Linked DNA regions of Homo sapiens: regions 1, 3, 4 and 5 are each linked to region 2. Evidence: promoter capture Hi-C in 16 types of primary human blood cells and fetal thymus (Javierre and others, 2016). All regions are on one chromosome and are shown on one strand. Each heading gives the region's core, a stretch centred on a gene start or on the middle of the fragment in contact. The rest is flanking DNA. Distances are from core to core; before and after follow the strand shown.

Region 1 (2,700 bases), core at 23-2,522, 800 kb before region 2:
CTCCTGAGCAACTGCATCCCTCCAGCCAAGCTGCCCGAGCTTCACTCACACTGGCTGCTCAACGACCGCATCTGGCTGGCTCACCGCTGGAGAAGCCGAGCTGAGAGCAGCCACTACTTCCAGAGCCTCGAGGTCACCACCCACATCCTCAGCCAGTTCTTTGGTACCACCCCATCTGAGAAACAAGGTATGGCTTCTCTGTTCCGTTACATGCAGCAGAACTCTGCAGACAAGGCAAACTTCAACCAGGGCCTGTGTGCCCAGAACAATCATGCTCCCTCAGACACCATCCCCGAAAGCCCCAAACTGGAGCAGCTGGTAGAATCCCACATCCAGCACTCCCTCAATGCCATCTGCACAGGGCCAGCAGCCCAACTGTGCCTGGGCGAGCTTGCTGTGGTCCAGAAATCCACACACCTCATTGGCTCTGGCTCAGAAAAGATGAACATACAGATCCTGGAAGATACCCATAAGGTGCAGCCCCAGCCCCCTGCCAGCTGCAGCTGCTACTTTAACCAGGCCTTCCACCTGCCCTGCCGCCACATCCTAGCCATGCTCAGTGCCCGCCGCCAGGTGCTCCAGCCCGACATGCTGCCGGCTCAGTGGACGGCAGGCTGTGCTACCAGTCTAGACAGCATCCTGGGCAGCAAGTGGAGTGAGACCCTGGATAAGCACCTGGCAGTGACTCACCTCACCGAGGAGGTGGGTCAGCTGTTGCAGCACTGCACCAAGGAGGAGTTTGAGCGGAGGTATAGCACCCTGCGGGAACTGGCCGACAGCTGGATTGGGCCTTATGAGCAGGTCCAACTCTGATTATTCTCGATGCCCAGAGATGCTCATGCACCTGTGCACACTCACATCCACCCATACACACACACACACACACACACACACACACACACACACTCCCTTACACTGTTGTACTTCCGTGGGCCCTCCTTCCAGAACAAGGACAACAAGGACAAGGTTGAAGGGTCTTCTCATCTACCATGGCCTGCTACCTAGCATGTGTCTAGCTCAATGAGACAGGAGTCAGCAAATCTTAATCTGTTTAGTTTACTCAGGTGGCCACATACAGTCTCTGTTGTATATTCTTGGTTTTGTTTTAATATTTTTTTTCTTTTTTTTTTTTTTTTTTTTTTTGAGAAGGAGTCTGTCTCCGTCACCCAGGCTGGAGTGCAGTGGCGCAATCTCTGCTCACTGCAAGCTCCACCTCCTGGGTTCACACCATTCTCCTGCCTCAGCCTCCCGAGTATCTGGGACTACAGGCGCCCGCCACAATGCCGGGCTAATTTTTTGTATTTTTAGTAGAGACGGGGTTTCACCGTGTTAGCCAGGATGGTCTCGATCTCCTGACTTCGTGATCTGCCCGCCTCGGCCTCCCAAAGTGCTGGGATTACAGGCGTGAGCCATCGCACCCGGCCTGTTTTAACATTTTCATAAGGTAAAAACCTTTCTTAGCTCAAAGGTCTTTAAAAAAGCAGGCAATCCAGCTGGGCATGGTGGCTCACGCCTGTAATCCCAGCATTTTGGGAGGCTGAGGTGGACAGATGACTTGAGGTCAGGAGTTCAAGACCAGCCTGGCCAACATAGTGAAACCCTGTCTCTACTAAAAATACACAAATTAGCCAGGTGTGGTGGCGGGGGCCCTGTAATCCCAGCTACTCGGGAGGCTGAGGCAGGAGAATCGCTTGAACCTGGGAGGCAGAGGTTGCAGTAGGCCAAGATCCTGCTGCCACTGCACTCCAGCCTGGGAGGGTGAGACTCCATCTAAAAAAAATAAAATAAATGGCAACCCCTGGTCTAAGATAAGAGATAAAACATCAGGTGGTGAGGTTGAGGTTTGGGGCTTGGTAGCAGTTGCCCCAGTCATGAGATGACTCACTTAACCCGTCTCCTTTAAGTGAGCTGGGCTGGGAGGCTTCCTACAGGGGAAGAGGCCCCTCTGGGGAGCTGACTCAGCCAGGCTCCCTGAACTTTTTTCCTTGTCCCATCCTGGGGTCAATAAAACTGAATGTTGCATATTCTAGCACTTGTCTAGTTTTTTTTTTGTTCCATAGAAGGCAGTTTAGGGTATATCATGGAGAGAATAGACTTTAGAGTGTTATACAACATGTGAATCCTGGTTGGTTCCTTCCCTGCTTGATTTTTGTGCCTGGTTCTGCCTTTTACTAGCTATGAGACTTATTAGGATAAGTTACCCCTCTAAACCTCAACCTGATTATCTGTAAAAATGGGGATCTCCACAGGGTATGTTCACAGAGCAGGCATACCTAGTGGGTGCTCAATTAAGTATTAATTTTCCTTCCTTGCCTATGGTCCTATGACCTGCCTTCAACATGCTGGGAAATTTAAGGCAAGAGGAGAATTCAAATACCTAGGACTTAATATAAGAAATTCTGGCCAGGCATGGTGGCTCACACCTGTAATCCCAGCACTTTGGGAGGCCGAGGCAGGCGGATCACCTGAGGTCGGGAGTTTGAGACCAGCCTGACCAACATGGTGAAACCGTGTCTCTACTAAAAATACAAAAATTAGCCGGGCGTAGTGGCAGGCACCTGTAATCCCAGCTATTCGGGAAGCTGAGGCAGGAGAATCACTTGAACCTGGGAGACGGAGGTTGCAGTGAGCCAAGATCATGCCATTGCACTCCAGCCTAGGTGACAGAGCAAGACTCTGTCTAAAAGATAAAAATTAAAA
Region 2 (2,700 bases), core at 185-2,684:
ACAAGGAACAATAGCTCCAATAAACTCAATGAATCTTTACTGAAAGTCAACCAGGCTCAGTATACTTTTCTAGAAACTGAGAGATGTTATCAATGGGGATACAGCAATAAACAAGCCAGCTATAATACAATCTCTGCTTAACGAAACAGATCATGAGGCTGAAAACAGAAATATGAATACACAAATAACTTCATGAAATCTTAAGTCTCTGAAAGGGCAGCAATGTGTCCGCTTGTTGGCTACTGAATATCCCCCACCCAGATCTCCCAGCACTTAACAATGTCCTGGTACCCACTGGTACCTAAAAAATACTGATAAAAGAAAGGCAAGAAGCGTAAAAGTAAAAAGCCAGGGCTTCTGAGTCAGAGGCATAAGGAGCTGAGGGCCTGGACCGGCCACTTAGTAACCGTGTAACCTTGGGCAAGTTACTTCTCTCTGAGTGTCACTTTCTCATCTGAGGACAAAGTTTATGGTGCTGGCGCACAATGATGTTTAATGAAAAAATAGGCAATTTAATGAAATCCAACATTTATTGGGCACTATGTGCCAGGCACACATTTGAACATAATACGTGACACACATACCTCCTCTAATGGTCACAACATCCCTATGACATGGATACTGCTACTATGTCTCCCATTTTACAGGTGAGAAAACCGAGGCTGAGAGGCTAAATAACTTGTTGAAAGGCTACACAAGCAGCAGAGTTAGTATTTCAACCCAGGGAGCCTGGCTCCAGTGGGGCAAGTACTTGTCATTACATGTTTCTTAAAACTAATAAATGGAAAGATAATGATCGAAAATTGAAACGAGTCAAATGGGGAAACCAAGGCTCAGGGAAGTTAAACATGTTCAACATTGAGCAATAATGACAGATCCCAGATTTGAACCAGGCAGAACGGCCTCAGGACAAAAGCTTGACGCTGCATGGCCACGTGGTTTCTTAAGACTTAACGAATGAAAAAAGGGATGAAAGAATAACATTTCCGAAAGGCCGGACACCGCAGAAGGCACAGAAGGAGAAACTGAGGGAAATCCAGCTTCGGAGCGCAGGGGAGTCCCTCACCCGCCCAGGCCCCAGAGCCTCGGGGCCGCCCACGCCGGGATCCCGGCCCACCTTACCAGCGCGGCGACAGCGGAGGAGCGCCCGGGCCTCCTGCACCGTCCGCCGTCTGCCAAGCCGCGCCTCCAGCGCCGGGTGCCGGTAGCCCTTGGGGAAGCGGTGCTTGATCACCGCCGCGCGGCCCTGGAAGCGGCCACGGAACACGCGCGCCTCGGCACCCTGCTTCACCAGCTCCAGGCCGCTCAAGAAGCGGCTGCTCCGCTCCCGGGCTGCGGCCAGAGCCTCAGCCTCCGGGGCGGGCTCCTCGCCATCGGCCGGCGTAGTAGCTCTGGCCGCCGCCATGACTGCTCGGCGCAACAGCTCCAACCGATCAGCTGTCTCTGAAAACTGTCGCGATGCTTCGGCTCGCTTCGGAAATCCTGGGACTTCTTCGGCAATCCTGGGACTTCTTCGGCTACCCGAATGCGTCCACCCCGGACACTTCCGGCCTGTAAGTGGTTACGCCTCCCAACTTTTCGGCTCTCTGAAGCCTGAGGTTCCCTGCAGGAAGGGCTCTTGTGGCCCCGCCTTCCGCCTCTTCGGCTATCTCCGTACACGTTCGGCAACGCTCAGTAAGTGGCTCTTCCCGACTCCTTGGCTCTCCGGAAATCTTCGGTGACTCTCGCAGCCGGCTTTGGGGGCCCACCTCTCAGTTGGTCGTCTCTTTCCGGAAAACTTCGGCGCCTCTCGAGAAAAACGTCGGACGCGCTTTGCTCTCTTCAGAAGTCTCTTCCGGGACAGCTGTACCCTCTAGTAGTCTCTTTTTGGAACTCCTCTTCCCCTGACTCCTACATTCCCCCCAAAATGTGCTCATACAAGTCAGAGTCGGAAGGGTCAGACAATGAACCATGTTTCCGACATCCTCTTAAGTGCTAGGATAACTACCATTTAGTGCATTCAGAAGAAATAAGGTTAAATGATGAAAATCCTTACAGAAAAGAAAATTGAGACTCAGAGCTGGCAGAGGGGGTGGTAAGATGGGGTGGGGAGTGGGGGCTGGGGAATCCGGGAAAGTCTTCCGGAGACAGAACCTAAACTGAATTGGGAATAATTAAACTTTTTCAGTTTCTACCTGTTTCATTACAAAGCTTATAATAACACAGGCTGTAGCAAATTCTTACAATACGGAACTTTGCACACGCACACATAAATAAATAAACTACCTATCCCCCTTGTGACACTGCTGGCCGTTAGTTTCTTTCCAGAATTTTCTTTCATTCAGTGTGCACACTCACACATCGTTGTGGCGTTTTTTCCAACATAAATGACATCATACTGTGGGTTCTTTGGCAACTTGCTTTTCATTTTCCTAAACAATTTATCTCAGACTATATTCCATATCAATACATACAGAGCTACCACGTCCTTCTACCTGGTCAGGCAGTTTCTTGTTGCTAAACAGTTGTTTCCAGTTTGTTGTTTCTCAGGAAAACACTTTACTTACTATTGCCAGTTTATTATAAAAGATAGTATAAAAGATAAAAATGAACAGCCAGATGAAGACGTACATAAGGAAAAGTAAAAATTGTACGTGTTTATCGTAAGTAACATGTTTTGAAATATGTATACATTGTGGAATGGCTAAATCCAGCTAGTTA
Region 3 (2,700 bases), core at 15-2,514, 580 kb before region 2:
CAAGGGGAAAGGAGAAAAATGTCATCCTGCATAGAGAACAACAAGTTGTGCCGAGTGTTCTGAGGGAACATTGCAGGGCAGATGGATTGTTCTGGATGTTCAGGATGTGTACCCTTCTTACTTGAGGGGAAGGAGGGCAGGAGGCTTGACAAGGAAGCCAAGGAGGCATAGAATGTGCGTTGTAAGCCAAGTGTGGCCACTCTGATTCCTTTCCCAAGACTTTGAACCTCGAAGGAGTGATGCTCAAGTTCAGGGGTAGTTAGAGATTGTGTTCATTATCTATTGCTGGGTAAGAGGTTGACCTGAAACTTAGTGGCTTGAAACAAGAAAACATCTATTATCTCACAGTTTCTGTGGGTTAGGAATCCAGAAGCAACTTAGCTGGGTGGTTCTGATTAGATCACCACTGGGATCAATGTGTCAGCTGGGGCTGAAGTCATATGAGGCTTGACTGCTGCGGGAGGGTCCACTTCCACTTCCACTTCCACTTTCACTTCCTATGTGGCTGAGGGCTGGAAGCTTTGAATCCTTGCCATATGGACTTCTCCATAGGCTGCCTGAGTGCTGAGTGTCCTCACGACATGGCAGACAGCTGCTTCCCCAGAGGGCCTGGAGACAGTGCAGGGGGTGGGGGAGAGGGGAGAGAGAGAGAGAGAGAGGAGAGAAGAGAGAGAAAGGAGAGAGAGAAGAGAAGGAGAGAGAAAGAAGAGAGAGAAAGAGAAGAGAGAGAGAAAGGAGAGAGAAAGAAGAAGGAGAGAGAGAAGAGAGAAAGGAGAGAGAGAAAGAAGAGAGAAAGAAAAGAGAGAAGAGAAAGGAGAGAGAGAAAGGAGAGAGAAGAGAGAGAAAGAAGACAGAGAAAGGAGAGAGAGAAGAGAAAAGAGAAGAGAGAGAGAAGAGAGAGAGGAGACAGAGAAGGGAGAGAGAAAGAAGAGAGAGAAGAGAGAAAAAGAAGAGTGAGACAGTGCACACATAAGATGGAAGCCTCAGTCCTTTTATTTTTATTTAATTTTTTTGTAGAGATGAATTATTGCTGTGTTGCTCAGCTGGTCTAGAACTCCTTGCTTTAAGTGATCCTTCCTTTCTTGACCTCCCAAAGTGTTGGAATTACAGGCATGAGCCACTGCACCTGACCTCAGTGGGTTTGTAACCTAACCTTGATGTGACCTACACTCACTTCTGCTGGTTTCTGTTGGTCACACAGACCAACCCTGGTACAATAAGGAAGGGGACTACATAAGGGTGTGAAGACCAGGAGGTAGGGATTGTTGAGGGCTGTCTTGGAGGTAGGCTGGCACAGAGATGGTTTATAGAACTTTTCTGTGGCAGAGTCTCATCTATTCCCTGCCTCCTGTGGTTTTGCCTGGGTGCCTCCCTTGAGCCTTCCTGTCGGCTCTCTGGGCTGCCCAACACCCTTTCAATAGTGTCCTCTTTTATTTAAGTTCACTGCTACATCTTCTCTTGTTTGCAAGGACAACTCTGATTAGAACAGGTGCTACAAGAGAGGACAGTGGCGGGGGAGGTGGGTGGGTAGCAGAGGAAACTCATTTTAGATAAGATGGTCAGGGAAGGCCTCTCTGAGGAGGGGCCACTTACCCTGAGACATGAATGGTGAGGAAGAGTCAGCAGATGAAAGGTGGGAGGAGGGGCGTTTTAGACAGAGGGGGCAGCATAGCCAAAGCTCTGCGGTGGGAACCAAGGTTGCCAATGGCCAGGTCACGCAGCCTCTTGAGGTCACAGTAAAAACTTGGATCCTTTCCCCTGCAACCAAAGCATCTCTTCTTCCAAACATCAGAGTCTGGGAGGGCTGAGGACCAGGCTCCAGGCCTCATTGTGCGGGGATCAGATCAGCCGAGTAAGTGGCTTTAACCAGATAAGGATCAAGACATTCTCTGCTTTGTTCTCGCATCTGTTTTGCCGGCTCTTGGGTTTTCCAAATTTCTGCTTGGGTTCTTTTCTGAGTTTCTTAGTTCCCTTTGATAAATTCCCACGTGATACTGGTGAGCTAAAGGGAAAGCTTTTTGTCCATAGTTAGGCCTGGGAATCCCAGCTAGAGAGCCCTGTCATCTTATGGAGATGGGCTGCTACCCAGGACGGTGTGGGAATGGGCAGGTGGGTCTGAGGGATCCCTTCAGCCTCATTACTCTATAGTTCTGCGTTTATTCAACAAATACCTGTTCAGCATCTGGCAGGTGTTCAGACTCTGTGTGGGTGTTAGGTTAAGAAGATAAAGGAGGCACTGTTCCTCCTCTCCACAATTCAAGTTAGAAGTGAGGGATGGCCTGATCCAAAGGCGATTGAGTGCAAATTCCTTGTTCCTTAGGAATCAGCCACATGGCTGGCCCACAGCCAAAGCCAACAGGTCCTCTGTACCCTGTATTTTAGGGAGCCAGATAGTTTCCCTCCAGGTTTACTAAAGGAGGCAGAACTCGCTTTACACCCACAGCCCAAAATTCCAATTTCCTCTTCCTTGCCCATACAGCAATCTTGGGGAGGAAGGAGGTCCTTGGTTTTACTGAGTAGTCAGGTGTTCATAGGAGAAGGCCATTTCCTCCCTCCCCGTTAAGGGTGGGGTAGTGGAAATTCAAAGGAAGTCCCTCATGGAGACTGAGAGGTGACTGCAAGCATGGGGTGCTGGGATGCTGTTCCCTGATGGGTGGTGGACTGTGGGCAGTGGACTGTGCCTATCTGAGCAGGGTAGAG
Region 4 (2,700 bases), core at 8-2,507, 600 kb before region 2:
AAGAAAGCTGTTACATTATCCCTGAAGAGCCCAGGGCATTCATAGAATCTGCTTTGCCTCAGGAAAAATTCTGTGCACAGAGTGCAAGCCAGAAGAACCACAATTAATCAGCTACTCCTCGGGCAGCGTTTCCCAAAGTGTGGAACGCAGAATAATTTCAGGAGGAACAAGGACGCACTGTTTATTTCAACAGACAGATATTTATTTTTTTTATAAGCATTAGAAAAATAACTGGCTTTCCAGTACCCGGTTTGTGATTGAAGTTGCCGCCTTAAATATATTTAAGGAGAAAAAAAGAGTCAGTTTGAATTTTTTAAAAAATGTAACATTTGGTAAATAGCAGTACAGATGGTCCACGGACATAAAGGTGCAACGCGAGACTGAAACGTGTGCAACGCCGTCCTAAGAGAAGCCCCTCGCCCGCTGGCGGGGAGCGGACAGTGCCCCGCGCCGGGAGCTTGGAAAGCCGGCCGGATCGGACGCTGGCGCTGAGCTACGTGGTAAACCCGGGAACAGTTCCTCTCCCCGTTCTCTGGGCCCGAGGTCCGCGCCTACAAAACGCGTGGGGTGTCACACCACAAGGAGACACCCCGAGAATGCGGTCAGGGGCCGCGAGACGGTGGCGGGGGACAGCGCTCAGTACACCGCTCGGCGCTGCACGCCTGGAGAACGCCCGGTGCCACGGGACGCCTTGGGCCCGGTTCGAATCCCGACTGCGCCACTGACTCGCTGAGGACCCGCGGGCGAGCGACTCCACCGTTTCGACAGGGGGTGCGGGATGTGCGGCTCAACCAGAGAAGCCTTGAGGACTCCTAGTGACCGACCGTTCGTGCACAGACAGGCGGCTGCGATGCGACGCCGCCGACCTGCGTCCACCACAGAGAACCGTAGGCCGCCTCGGCCGGCCGGGCCTGGGCCTGACGGGAGCCGGAGGCGGCCGCGCCCCGCACCGGGCATGCGCAGCACCGCGCGCACCCGGAGAGGAGCCGAGACCGTGGCCGCGCGTCGAGTGGGCCTTCCCGCCTCAGCCTCCCCGTCCGGCCAGGCCCCCCACAACGGCCTGCCCGTCAGCCCCACGCCTCGGCTGACGGCCAGCGCTTCCCGGCACTCACCGCTACCAGCGCGGCGGGCTCCCGGCCGCTCCTTCGCCTCAGGCCCGCCGCTGCCGCCTCCGCGTCGGCCCACCTGCCCGCCGTAGGACAAAGGCGCCACCAACCGACCGGCGCGGGCACGAGGCAATGGCGGCCGGGCGGAGAGTGGAGATGGGGGCAGAGGGCGCGCACGTAGCGGCAGGCGCGGCACTGTCGCAAGACCGCGCGTGTTTACGGCAGGGCTGAGTTGGGGCGTCGATCTCCTTGGCAATGAGGGCCCGGGAAGTGGCTCTCGGGCGGGAGTTGAGAACGCAGGGAGTTGCCTAGCAACAGCGTCCTAGGCTGAGGATGGGCCCCACGGTGGTCGCCTCAGCCCCCGCCCCAGAGTACTTTTTTTCTGTTTTCAGAGCACATTCCCTCCTCCCTAACTGTGGGAACAGAACATTCAAATCCCCAAATACCTTGATTTAGTCTTGCATAAAACTGAAAGCAAAAACCCCAAATCCCTATACACGTGTGTATTGGAGAATATATATAGTCCTGTAACCTCCGGACCACAAGGAACAAAGAGAGCAGAAAGGTGGAGAAAATGTTGTATTTAAATTTACATTTAAATAGGCTCTGTACTCTATTAGTTTCACTGACAAGCGGCAAAAGGTTTCTGGAGATATAGTCACAGGTTCTTCTTGAGTTATTTATTCTTGGAATATTCGTTCAACGTCAAAAATTTCCCGGAATGTAACTGTTGACCGTGAAGCCTGTAAAATGTTGTACTGTTCATTTCATGTATAGAATACATTTGTCACAGGGAATGGGATTTGCTCACACAATAGTAAATGCACTCTATTAATCACAGCCATAGCTATATTAATCAGGTACTCTTTTATTAGTGTTGGAAACGCCTCAGACTCCATGGGGTCTAGTTCTTCTCCTTGCGAATATTGCCTACTAAGAAAAAATGGTGCCTGCGGAATTTAAACACTACAAGAAGCCAGATTTCTTTGACATCTACCCCTATGCTCACTCCACTCATTTATTCACTGAATGTTTATTACATACCTACTATGTAGCCCTATACTTATTATATGCCTGCTTGTTAGGCGCTGTTATGAGCAAATGCAGACCCTTTTCTGCTATCTTTGAGATTACAGTCTGGTGAAAGCATTAGACGAATAATCACACTTGAGTGTGTAATTGCAAACTGAGATAAACGCTGTGATGGAAAGAAATAGGGATTCTCAATGGTTGTAACTAGAACTTTAGTTTACTCACAGGCAAAGTGGGTTATTCCAATTCCCACTTTATAAGACTGTATGAAATTAGAAATGAAGACATAAAGTCTGTCAAATAATGGATACCCAACAAATGTTCATTCTTATTCCTTTCCCTCCAATATAGATCCTAATACTATGAAAATTTAAGAAGAATCATATTAATTAGATGATTAAGATAACCAAGCTTAGGGAAAAATGTTGGTTTAGAGGTGAGTGGCAGTACCTCAAGTGGGTAGTGGACTTTAGCCAAAAGATGTATTCAGTGACTTGTGTATTAAGTGTTTAATGAGTGTTTTTTATGCACTTGATTTTGTGGAGAGTAGAGAGTAAGGTAG
Region 5 (2,700 bases), core at 3-2,502, 670 kb before region 2:
CCAACCACCACCACACCGCAGCCCACGGCTCCCCCGACGGTCTGCCCCACCGGACCCCCCACTGTCCACCCCTCAGAGCGCCCCACAGCTGGCCCCACAGGTCCCCCCTCAGCTGGCCCCACAGGTCCCCCCACTGCTGGCCCTTCTACGGCCACTACTGTGCCTTTGAGTCCGGTGGACGATGCCTGCAACGTGAACATCTTCGACGCCATCGCGGAGATTGGGAACCAGCTGTATTTGTTCAAGGATGGGTGAGGAGGCGGGGTTGTGTGGATGCGGGAGGGGGCTTTGCGGAGGGGCTGCCCGTCCCTTCCCGCCCACTGGCCCTGTGTCCAAGGCTTAGAGCCCGTCCTTTCCCTCCTCGCTTTCTCAGGAAGTACTGGCGATTCTCTGAGGGCAGGGGGAGCCGGCCGCAGGGCCCCTTCCTTATCGCCGACAAGTGGCCCGCGCTGCCCCGCAAGCTGGACTCGGTCTTTGAGGAGCGGCTCTCCAAGAAGCTTTTCTTCTTCTCTGGTTAGTTACCTACTTTCCCTCCCCCGCCCGGTCAATCCCCATCAGTCAAGGAGGCTCAAGAGACCATCGATAACCCACGAAACGTCTTGTGCGTTTTAGAAAAATACGCCCCCTGGCGGACGCAGTTTAGCAAACGTAGGGGCGGCTGAGTTTCTGCCCCCTCCTCTCCACGCCCTCGCGTCGCTCTACCCAGCGCCTCTGCCCCTGGGTTGCAGGGACTGCGGGCACGCGGGCTAGGAAAGGCCTCGCCGGAATCTCCCTCCTCGCGTTCTAGGAGTACGTGCTCCCTCTGCGCCCCCAAACCGACGTGACCCTCCTCCCCTGCAGGGCGCCAGGTGTGGGTGTACACAGGCGCGTCGGTGCTGGGCCCGAGGCGTCTGGACAAGCTGGGCCTGGGAGCCGACGTGGCCCAGGTGACCGGGGCCCTCCGGAGTGGCAGGGGGAAGATGCTGCTGTTCAGCGGGCGGCGCCTCTGGAGGTGAGCGCCGCCGCGGCCGCCGGCAGGGGGAGCCCGGGCGCCGTCGGTCCGTCCGCTAGCCGGCTCAGCACCTGTCTCCTCCGCGCCTGCCCGCAGGTTCGACGTGAAGGCGCAGATGGTGGATCCCCGGAGCGCCAGCGAGGTGGACCGGATGTTCCCCGGGGTGCCTTTGGACACGCACGACGTCTTCCAGTACCGAGGTGAGGGCTGAGGAGGATCCCTTCGTGAGACACCACACTAAGCTCCTCTTAGTGAGTGGTCAAATTCTGAGCGAGGAAGAAAAAGCCCTTGGAAATGGAAACAAATGCCCCAGCACAGACAAGATCCCAGCAGAGGCAGAGGCCTTCTCCAGGTCATTTAGGAAGTCAGGGATGCAACCAAGACCAGGACCCAGATTTCCTGCCTCCCCGGCTGGAAGCTCTTTCTCCTTCAGTACAGGACGGCAGGTGGTTTGTATGGAAGCTCAGTTATTAGACAACAGTCATCAAGTGCCGATAATGTGCCAGGCACTGTGCTACAGGGAGAGATAAGACAATTCACAGCTCTGTGACTTTGGGCAAGTCACTGCTTCTCTACTCTTCGAGCCTCAGTTTCCCCATCTGTAATATGGGGACTATAGCTGGAATTACACTTGACTTCCCTTTCTTACCAGTCACATCCAAACAGTTGACAAGGTGAACAAGATTTCCTGCCACCAAAATCTTTTTCGAGTCTGTCATTTTTTTTGCCATCTTCTTTATAAACACCCCAGCCCAAACCATACTGGCTGTCCAGGACCTTTAACAAATTCCATGAGATTAGAGAGGGGGTAGGAGTGAAGGGCAATGGTCTTGGGAGTGACCCCAGATGAATTCCAAGGTCAAAGAAATTAAGAGGATCTGACACTCCACCCCCGTGTTCTCATCTCTTCCCACTCCTCCTGTTATTTACTCTGCTCCACCCACACTGGCTGCTCTTTGAACAGATCAAGGTCATTCCTAGCTTACAGCCTTTGTGCCAGTTGTTCCCTCTGTCTGGAAAGCTTCCCCTCCAGATTGTCACTGGGCCATCCCACTGTCTTCCTTCAGGTTTCAGTGCTAAGGCCATTGCTTCAATGAGGCCTTCTTTGATGCTTATTATCTATTTACTTGTTTTTATTTTCTCCATAGCTTTCTATATTTTCTTTTTTTTTCTTTTTTCTTTTTTTTTTTTTTTGAGATGGAGTCTTGCTCTGTCGCCCAGGCTGGAGTGCAGTGGCACGATCTCAGCTCACTGCAACCTCCGCCTCCCGGGTTCAAGCGATTCTCCTGCCTCAGCCTCCCAAGTAGCTGGGATTACAGGTGCCTGCCACCACGCTTGGCTAATTTTTTGTATTTTTTAGTAGAGACGGGGTTTCACCATCTTGGCCAGGCTGGTCTTGAACTCCTGACCTCGTGATCCACCCGCCTCAGCCTCCCAAAGTGCTGGGATTACAGGCATGAGCCACCGCACCCAGCCGCTTTCTATATTTTCAAAACCAATCTCATTTATTTATGTGTTTGCTTAATTGTCTCTTGCCTCACTAGAGTGTAAGCACCAAGATAATTGAGATCATGCCTGCATTTTTTCTGCTTATCCCCAGTATCTTGAACAAAGCACATAGTAGATGCTCAGTAAATGATGAATGAACAGATTTGTTCAATGAATGAGCGTTGAATGAATTGTTCTGAGCATTAAGATAGTTGGTCTAT

Evidence for each region. The method cuts DNA at HindIII sites, captures the fragments that hold promoters and counts their contacts. A CHiCAGO score of 5 or more calls a contact.
Region 1: a contact is called between a fragment that was not itself captured here and the fragment with the promoter of TP53RK in region 2, in 1 of 17 cell types (naive CD8 T cells). The highest score is 5.3, in naive CD8 T cells.
Region 3: a contact is called between a fragment that was not itself captured here and the fragment with the promoter of TP53RK in region 2, in 1 of 17 cell types (monocytes). The highest score is 5.7, in monocytes.
Region 4: the fragment with the promoter of NCOA5 here is called in contact with the fragment with the promoter of TP53RK in region 2 in 2 of 17 cell types (total B cells and monocytes); the score reaches 9.3 in total B cells.
Region 5: a contact is called between a fragment that was not itself captured here and the fragment with the promoter of TP53RK in region 2, in 1 of 17 cell types (activated CD4 T cells). The highest score is 5.0, in activated CD4 T cells.

The regions. Positions count from the first base shown.
Region 1 is chr20:45,883,238-45,885,937 of GRCh38, forward strand. It overlaps ZSWIM1 (zinc finger SWIM-type containing 1), which reads left to right. Exons shown (of 2, transcript NM_080603.5): 2 at 1-2,029. The coding sequence ends at 813. Among named protein-coding and RNA genes, the nearest start is that of SPATA25, 3.0 kb to the right of the region's middle. The HindIII fragment of the contact is 4,284 bases long and covers 1-2,700 here.
Region 2 is chr20:46,688,010-46,690,709 of GRCh38, forward strand. TP53RK (TP53 regulating kinase) reads right to left here and starts at 1,435. Exons shown (of 2, transcript NM_033550.4): 1 at 1,123-1,435. The coding sequence starts at 1,405. TP53RK-DT (TP53RK divergent transcript) reads left to right here and starts at 1,290. Exons shown (of 1, transcript NR_186399.1): 1 at 1,290-2,280. RefSeq lists a silencer at 1,014-1,063 and an enhancer at 1,294-1,883. The HindIII fragment of the contact is 1,274 bases long and covers 915-2,188 here.
Region 3 is chr20:46,110,980-46,113,679 of GRCh38, forward strand. No RefSeq gene overlaps it. Among named protein-coding and RNA genes, the nearest start is that of CD40, 6.0 kb to the right of the region's middle. The HindIII fragment of the contact is 1,495 bases long and covers 518-2,012 here.
Region 4 is chr20:46,088,705-46,091,404 of GRCh38, forward strand. It overlaps NCOA5 (nuclear receptor coactivator 5), which reads right to left and starts at 1,258. Exons shown (of 8, transcript NM_020967.3): 1 at 1,113-1,258. RefSeq lists enhancers at 1-544, 482-691, 545-1,358, 1,372-1,421 and a silencer at 862-1,211. The HindIII fragment of the contact is 2,710 bases long and covers 1-2,547 here.
Region 5 is chr20:46,013,284-46,015,983 of GRCh38, forward strand. MMP9 (matrix metallopeptidase 9) reads left to right here. Exons shown (of 13, transcript NM_004994.3): 9 at 1-251; 10 at 374-513; 11 at 841-991; 12 at 1,088-1,191. SLC12A5-AS1 (SLC12A5 and MMP9 antisense RNA 1) reads right to left here. Exons shown (of 3, transcript NR_147699.1): 3 at 219-1,505. Among named protein-coding and RNA genes, the nearest start is that of MMP9, 5.7 kb to the left of the region's middle. RefSeq lists a silencer at 938-1,157. The HindIII fragment of the contact is 1,515 bases long and covers 496-2,010 here.